2 separate regions of the Homo sapiens genome follow, and region 1 is linked to region 2. Evidence: promoter capture Hi-C in 16 types of primary human blood cells and fetal thymus (Javierre and others, 2016). All regions are on one chromosome and are shown on one strand. Each heading gives the region's core, a stretch centred on a gene start or on the middle of the fragment in contact. The rest is flanking DNA. Distances are from core to core; before and after follow the strand shown.

Region 1 (3,680 bases), core at 930-3,429, 430 kb before region 2:
TTGCAGTAAGCCGAGTTCGTGCCATTGCACTCCAGCCTGGGCAACAAGAGTGAAACTCCGATTCAAAAATAAATAAATAAATAAATAAATAAAAGAATCTAAGGGTAGTACGACTAAAATAGTCGCCTTGAGTATGGGATGTTAGCAATTTCTACTTTGTATTTCCCTATGTTTGCCAGGCACAGTGGCTCACTCCTGTAATTCCAGCACTTTGGGAGGCCAAGGCATGAGGATCGCTTGAGACCAGGAGTTCAAGATCAGCCTGGGCAACATGGCAAGACTGTCTCTACAAAAATTAGCCAGGTGTGATACATGCCTGAGCCCCAGCTACTTGGGAGTCTGAGATGGGAGGATCACTTGAGCTCAGGAGTTTGAGGTTGCAGTGAGCTGTGATCACACCACTGCACTCCAGCCTGGGTGTCAGAGAGAGACCCTGTCTCTAAACAATAAATAAATAAAACTCACAAAGTTTCTACAATGGTGCAGTCTGATGTGACATAAGTGAACTGGAGGTGGTGGCTATGGGGGGAGGTGTCTGGTCTGGGAAGCAGTAAAGGCTTCTATCATCAAAGGGTTCAGCCAGAGGCTTGGCGACCACCAGGTTAGTCCCACGGGGGAGAGAGAACTGATACAGGATGGTCTGTGAGGTTCCAGCTAGCTGTAGAGGTTTGGTATTTGACCCTCTACACCCCTGTCACAGACATAGTCTGCTCACTCCATAACATTTGCTGACTCTCTCTCCTCCTCTGTAATTGGCATCATGATAACACTGACCTCACAGGGCTGTTGTAAGGATTAAATAAAACAGAGTAGCAAAGTAGCCAATGTACTCTTTTCTTTCTTCTTTCTATGGTCCCTGCCTTCAAGGAGTTCACAATTTAATAGTCTCTGGCTAGTTTCTTTTTCTTCTTTCTTTACTTCTTTCCTTTCTTTCTCTCTCTCTCTCTTTTTAGAGATGGGGTCTCCCTATGTTGGCCAGGCTGTTCTTGAACTCCTGGGCTCAAGCAATTCTCCGGTTTCAGCTCCCCAAATTCTGGGGATTACAGGTGACAGCCACCACACCCAGCCTCTCTGGCTAGTTTCTTATGTCTCTCTCCTCAAAAAGATGTAAACGTAAACTTTGAGGGAAAAAAAATATGTACAAGCTTCCCAGGGGCAGGGGTTACATCTGGCTCTCCCCCATCACTCATGGAAGGACAAGATATAGGCGAATCCATAAAAGAATCAGAGGAGGAGTGGGCATCCCTCCACACCCACTTCTTGTCCTGGTGACACACCCTGGGTACTTGCCAGGAGTCAATTAGAGGTTAGGGAAGGGCACTAGAGACACGGCCAAGTGGCAACTCACACCCAGGCTTAGCAGGGCTTTGCACAGCAGAGCCAACTGCCCGGCTCCCAGTGTCCCTGGACGCTTCACCGCCCTCCCTCCACTAACCAGTAGGTGGCAGCATAGGCCAGGAATTCACAGGTAGAGGTGCAGGTGACGTGACCAAGAAGGAGGCCACTCCACTCTGCCCCACCTAGGGTCCCTAGGGAGAGGGGGTCACTGAGCACCTGGAAGGCAGAGGCGAGGCAGTTGCAGTGTAGGGAGGGACAGAGTCTGAGAGGTAGGATGGGAGAGAAAAATCCAGGACTCCCAGTCCTCACTTCTTTCCCAGGCTCAGTCCTCTCAAGTCCATCCCCCAGGAACATCACGGGCTACAGCACCCTGGCATCGACAGGCACTCACTGTGGGTGGCCCCAATGGGCTTGTCGTCCTCCTCACTGTCCGGTCCAGAGCACCATTCGTCCCCACTGTACGGCTGCTTCCGCTCCAGCACACAGCGCCGCTTACTCCGCGGCGCCACCTCTGCCCAGGCAGGACGGAGGAAAGAGTGAGTGCCTAGAGGCCCCATTATTCTCCCACACCCAGGGTCCCTCCCAGATCCATTCTCTAAGATGCCCCACCCTAGAGGGCACTGCCCAGGCCATGGTGGGCACTTCGCCAGCCCGTGGCCCCCACCACGCCACCATTTGTTTCTGATTTCTCTCTATAGCCCCATGCCTGTCTCCCCTCCCCCCCAACACCAAGTACAGCATAATCCCCAACCACAACTGGTTCTAATTAGGGCTGGAGGGGAGGGGGAGCTGCTGCTACTCTTCCAGGCCCCAGTGCCTGCTCCCAAAGGGCTCCCACCAGCCGGGATACGGAGGCTCCTGGAAGTGTGTGGGTCTGGGGTCTGCTCCTCACTCCATGGCACCTCCCTCTCCCCTTCTGGAGCTCTGGTGGGAAAGCAGGAGGGGAAGGAGTCCAGAAGTCCGACCACTCTGTGTGGCCCCTCCATGGGTGGCATCATGGCCAACCCCAATCCCGAATGATCTGGTTGGTGGGTGTTGAAAGGTACCCATGCAGAAATACTGGAGAAGAACGTGGGATGAGGACTGGACAAGCAGGGAGCAGAGAGGTGATCTCCCAGAACATCTGAGCCTTGGACTATGGGAGATGCTAGGGTCTTAGGGATGAGGAAATGGGGTACCTTTGGCCTCTGAATCCAGGGATGGGGTCCCAGCCTCTCGCTGCTCTCCAGAGTCCACAGACACACTCCGGTCCCTCTTCACCTTGCCCTTGAGCGAGCTGAAAGGGGGCACCCCTGCCTGGGGGTTCTTCAGACTTGAGTTGCTAGGCGAGATCTGGTTGGCCTTGGCCCCATGGTTCCCCGCCCCCACGCCCTTCGAGCCCACGTTGCAGGTGGGTCCTTGGTTCACATTCTGGTGCTGAGATTGGGCCCCGCCATTCCCTGTCTTGCCATGATTGGTCAATTTATTTTCTGGGTGCATTGGCTTGGCTGGGGCAGGGGGGCAATGACCGCGGGGGGACAGCGGCGGGCTCCCTGGAGCTTCTCTCCTCCTGGGGTGGGGTAACCTGGGAGGAGGTGGGAGAAATGTGAAAAGTTAACCTTGCTAGGGGCTAGGCATGCCTGCAACTTAATTACCCCATCCTGCCTCCCCTAACAATGGGGGAGGGTGGGGGGAAGGGGTGGTATCTCAAGACCACCACCAGCTATTCTCTACCTCCCTCCATGGCTTCCTCAGACAAGGGCTGAAGCCCTCATCCACCTTGGGGAGTGGAGATGGGGAAACCCTCCACCCCCTAGCCTCCACAATTTGAATGGAAACCAGGGCCTAGAGTTGGCAGAATTCACCCACCTCAGCCCCAAAACACCCATCAGCCTGCAAGCTTCTGTGGCAACCCTGTCCTCTGTATCAGACTTAAGCATCCTCTCTTCTAAGATCTGCTGTCTTCAGACTCCTTCCAAGGTCTCAAACCTCAACTCCCATATGTCCCAACACCAGCAGAGAAGGGCCACAGGACCTGGGGTCACTGCACATGCCCGGGTCTCATTCCCCAGGGACAGTGGGAAAACGCACACCAGGGAGTGCTACCCACTGGTCCAGACAGCTGGAGGGGAAGGCCTGAGGAGGGGGGCTTGGCAGGCCAGGCCGGCAGGCAGAAGCAGGAGGAAAGGGGGAGGGGAGCGGTGTGTCAAGCAGATGGGGAGTGTAGCTTGAAGCCAAGGATTCCTGCAGCCTAGGCTGCGGGCCCTTTAAGCTCCAGCCCGCTCCCCCCGCCGCCTCCCCCTCCCCGGAGACCTATTAATAGCCGCTGGAAAGATCACATCACGGGAGAGGATATTTATCCC
Region 2 (3,623 bases), core at 670-3,169:
GGAGTCAAGGGTTGTGGCTCATTAAAGAGGGCTTTGGATTAGTGAGTCTCAAATCACTCAAAGGGGAGGTCTTGGTCCTAAACGAATGGAAATTCTCTCTTAGAGGATCCTGCCAACTCTGAGAAGGACTTTACATGCTTCTTGGTGTGGAAAACTGGCCAGTTAATTGCACGCAGTGCAGGCACAGCACGTTTGCCAAGTTTGACTTTGGACATATTGTGTAGGAAGCACCAGTGGGATACCCATGAACCGTTCATGTCCAGGAAGCAGCTGGAGCCTGAAGTTTGCAGGACAGGTTCAGGCTGAAGACACAAATTCAGAAATCATCGTGTATACAGGAGAGGAGGCTATGATGGAAACAGAAAGAATATAGGAAAGGGTAATGATTCTGAGGCCAAGGGTGGAGGAAGTGGTGTCAAGTGCTGGAGGAAGATTGATTAATAACAACATAGTGTTCACTGGACAAATAAGATCCCTTAAGAGGAGATGGTACGGGCGATGGGATCAACTGTCTTGAAAGGGAGGTGGGCACATTCTCCAAGATTTGACACTGGCGGGAGGATGCGAGTAGGAAAATAAAAACATCAGCAACACATCACAACACAACAAACCATAACCTGGCCAGGGCCTGAGAGCAGGGAGAGAGAAAGGGTAGGAAGAAGCCAGAGGAGTTTCAGCGACTGCAGTCCTTCCTCTGCACTATAGCGTACCCCTACCACGATCCCAAGGCCTCAGTAAAGGTTTGCTGCACACCTCAGCTTCTTATCAGTGATGCTTTGGAGAATGAAGGACTCTGAGGCAGTGTTCAGGGCAGACTGAAGGAGGACGGACACTTTCAGGAGCCCAGGAGTGGAGATGGAGAATTCAACTCAAGTAGGAAATTCAGCAAAGGTGACCAGGGGAAAGATAAGTCCACTAGGAGTCTGCTAAGCATCCTTGGAGTTAGTAGAAAACGCCAGGATTCCCAATATATTTGGGATGGGGTTTCAAATATATTTTGACTATTGTTTGAGTATTAAAGAAAAGGGCAGGGCCGGGCTTGGTGGCTCACGCCTGTAATCTCAGCACTTTGGGAGGCCGAGGCGGGTGGATCACGAGGTTCAGGAGTTCGAGGCCAGCCTGGCCAACATGGTGAAACCTCGTCTCTACTAAAAATACAAAAATTAGCCGGGTGAGGTGGTGGGCACCTGTACTACCCGGGAGGCTGAGGCAGGAGAATCGCTTGAACCCGGGAGGCAGAGGTTGCAGTGAGCCGAGATCGCGCCACTGCACTCTAGGGTAGGAAGGCCCAGGGTAGGAAGCTGAGCGGTTTCTAAATCTGTAGCCCCTTTTTCTCAATGACAATGAAGTAATCTTCCGAGATGTTGAAAAACCTGGTGAGGAAAGTTTGGAATAGCAGTTTGGGAATCCCCTGTAATAATCTGCTTTCCCTTGTGAACAGCAGGCACTGTCTTAAAATTTTTTTGTATCCTCAATGCACTGTAGGAGTTCAATAAATGATAGAATAGATGAATAAATAGAAGAGAATGAGGAGACGGATCTGGGCAGGCTGCGAAGGCGGTGCTATTCCAAAGCCCAGCCCAGAGGCAGTGACCTCCGACCCAAGCCAAAAAAAAAACCTCGCGTTCAGAGGCCGGGAGAAAGAACAGCTCCCAAATTGAGGGGAGTCCAAGACCCTGCTCTTTTAGAGGGTGGGGCTAGGAGAGCGTATTTCGACGCTGCCCGCCAACGAACCAATCCCCGCCTAAAGGGGGAGGGGATTTAATCTGTCGCCTCTCCTTCCCTTTGGAAAGTAAATACGTTCGGGCGCCATTCAAACGGACCAATGAGTGATCGACGTTTTTGTGGTTGGCCTTCACCGATTGGCTGGAGTTTGTCGTCCCTCCCTCCTCGTCACGCCTCTGGCTCCACCCCTTTGCACACAAGATGGCGGCGCCCAGCGGAGTAGGGGCTGCGCTTGGGGTTTGCTGAAGCTGGCTGCCTCTCCCACTCCCCTTTTGGGTGCAAAGCGCCGCTAGCGGGAAGACGGGGGCCGGGCGGGGACAGGGGCACCTGCGTAGCTGGACTGAGAGCCTGCGCCCAGCTTACATCGACCCCACCCGGCCCCGGCCCGACCCGACGCGACCCGATCCGATCCGATCCCATTCCATCCGTTCCTCGTCTCCTCCCGGTCTGACCCGTTGCCCGGCCGTGGTTCGCCACACCAGGCATCCAAAGCTGAGGTCGCTCCTACGGCCTGGGCTCGCCTTCGCTTTAGAGATGTTTGGCCTCTTCCCTCCCAAACAGCCCATCTTCAAAACCTGGACTCTTGGACTGGCACCTGGCCACCTTTCCCTCTACCAAGACTCCACTTCCGTCTTACCCACTTCTTCCTCAGATTCTTGGTACCCCCTGGGTTGGAGACTGCTCATTTTCCTTCCAAATTAATCCCAGACCCCCTAAAATATTGACAACCTTGACAACCCCCCAACCGAGGAGCCAGACTTTGTTTTGGACTAACTTCCATAGCCCTATCATGGAGGCAGTGTACCTGGTAGTGAATGGGTTGGGCCTGGTGCTGGACGTGCTGACCTTGGTGTTGGACCTCAACTTCCTGCTGGTGTCCTCCCTCCTGGCTTCCCTGGCCTGGCTCCTGGCCTTCGTCTACAACCTGCCGCACACGGTACTGACTAGTCTTCTGCACTTGGGCCGCGGAGTCTTGCTTTCATTGCTGGCCTTGATCGAAGCCGTGGTCCGGTTCACATGTGGGGGCTTGCAGGCCTTGTGTACTCTGCTGTATAGCTGCTGCTCTGGCCTAGAGAGCCTAAAGCTCCTGGGGCACCTGGCCTCTCATGGGGCACTGCGGAGCAGGGAGATACTGCACCGGGGCGTCCTCAATGTGGTCTCCAGTGGCCATGCTTTGCTGCGCCAGGCCTGTGACATCTGTGCCATTGCCATGAGCCTGGTGGCTTATGTGATCAACAGCCTGGTCAACATCTGCCTCATCGGCACTCAGAACCTCTTTTCCCTGGTGCTGGCCCTGTGGGATGCAGTGACCGGGCCTCTGTGGAGGATGACGGACGTAGTGGCTGCCTTCCTAGCCCACATTTCCAGCAGTGCTGTGGCCATGGCCATCCTCCTTTGGACACCCTGCCAACTAGCCCTGGAGCTGCTGGCCTCAGCTGCCCGCCTCCTGGCCAGCTTTGTGCTTGTCAATCTCACTGGCTTGGTGTTGCTAGCTTGTGTGCTGGCAGTGACGGTGACTGTGTTGCATCCGGACTTCACCCTGAGGCTGGCTACCCAGGCACTCAGCCAGCTCCATGCCCGGCCATCCTACCACCGTCTTCGAGAGGATGTCATGCGGCTCTCTCGCCTAGCACTGGGCTCAGAGGCCTGGCGCCGAGTCTGGAGCCGCAGTCTGCAGCTGGCGAGTTGGCCAAACCGGGGAGGGGCACCTGGAGCTCCCCAGGGTGACCCTATGAGGGTATTCTCAGTTAGGACCCGGAGACAGGACACTCTTCCTGAAGCGGGGCGCAGATCAGAGGCAGAAGAGGAGGAGGCCAGGACCATCAGAGTGACACCTGTCAGGGGCCGAGAGAGGCTCAATGAGGAGGAGCCTCCAGGTGGGCAAGACCCTTGGAAAT

What was found. Contacts are between HindIII fragments. The CHiCAGO score rates a contact against its expected background, and 5 or more counts as called.
Region 1: a contact is called between a fragment that was not itself captured here and the fragment with the promoter of RNF26 in region 2, in 1 of 17 cell types (neutrophils). The highest score is 5.8, in neutrophils.

Annotation. Positions count from the first base shown.
Region 1 is chr11:118,905,754-118,909,433 of GRCh38, forward strand. It overlaps BCL9L (BCL9 like), which reads right to left. Exons shown (of 10, transcript NM_001378213.1): 4 at 2,517-2,902; 5 at 1,730-1,849. Among named protein-coding and RNA genes, the nearest start is that of MIR4492, 3.1 kb to the right of the region's middle. RefSeq lists enhancers at 1,710-1,779, 3,508-3,680. The HindIII fragment of the contact is 2,072 bases long and covers 1,144-3,215 here.
Region 2 is chr11:119,332,608-119,336,230 of GRCh38, forward strand. It overlaps RNF26 (ring finger protein 26), which reads left to right and starts at 1,920. Exons shown (of 1, transcript NM_032015.5): 1 at 1,920-3,623. The coding sequence starts at 2,516. RefSeq lists an enhancer at 1,562-2,453. The HindIII fragment of the contact is 9,565 bases long and covers 1-3,623 here.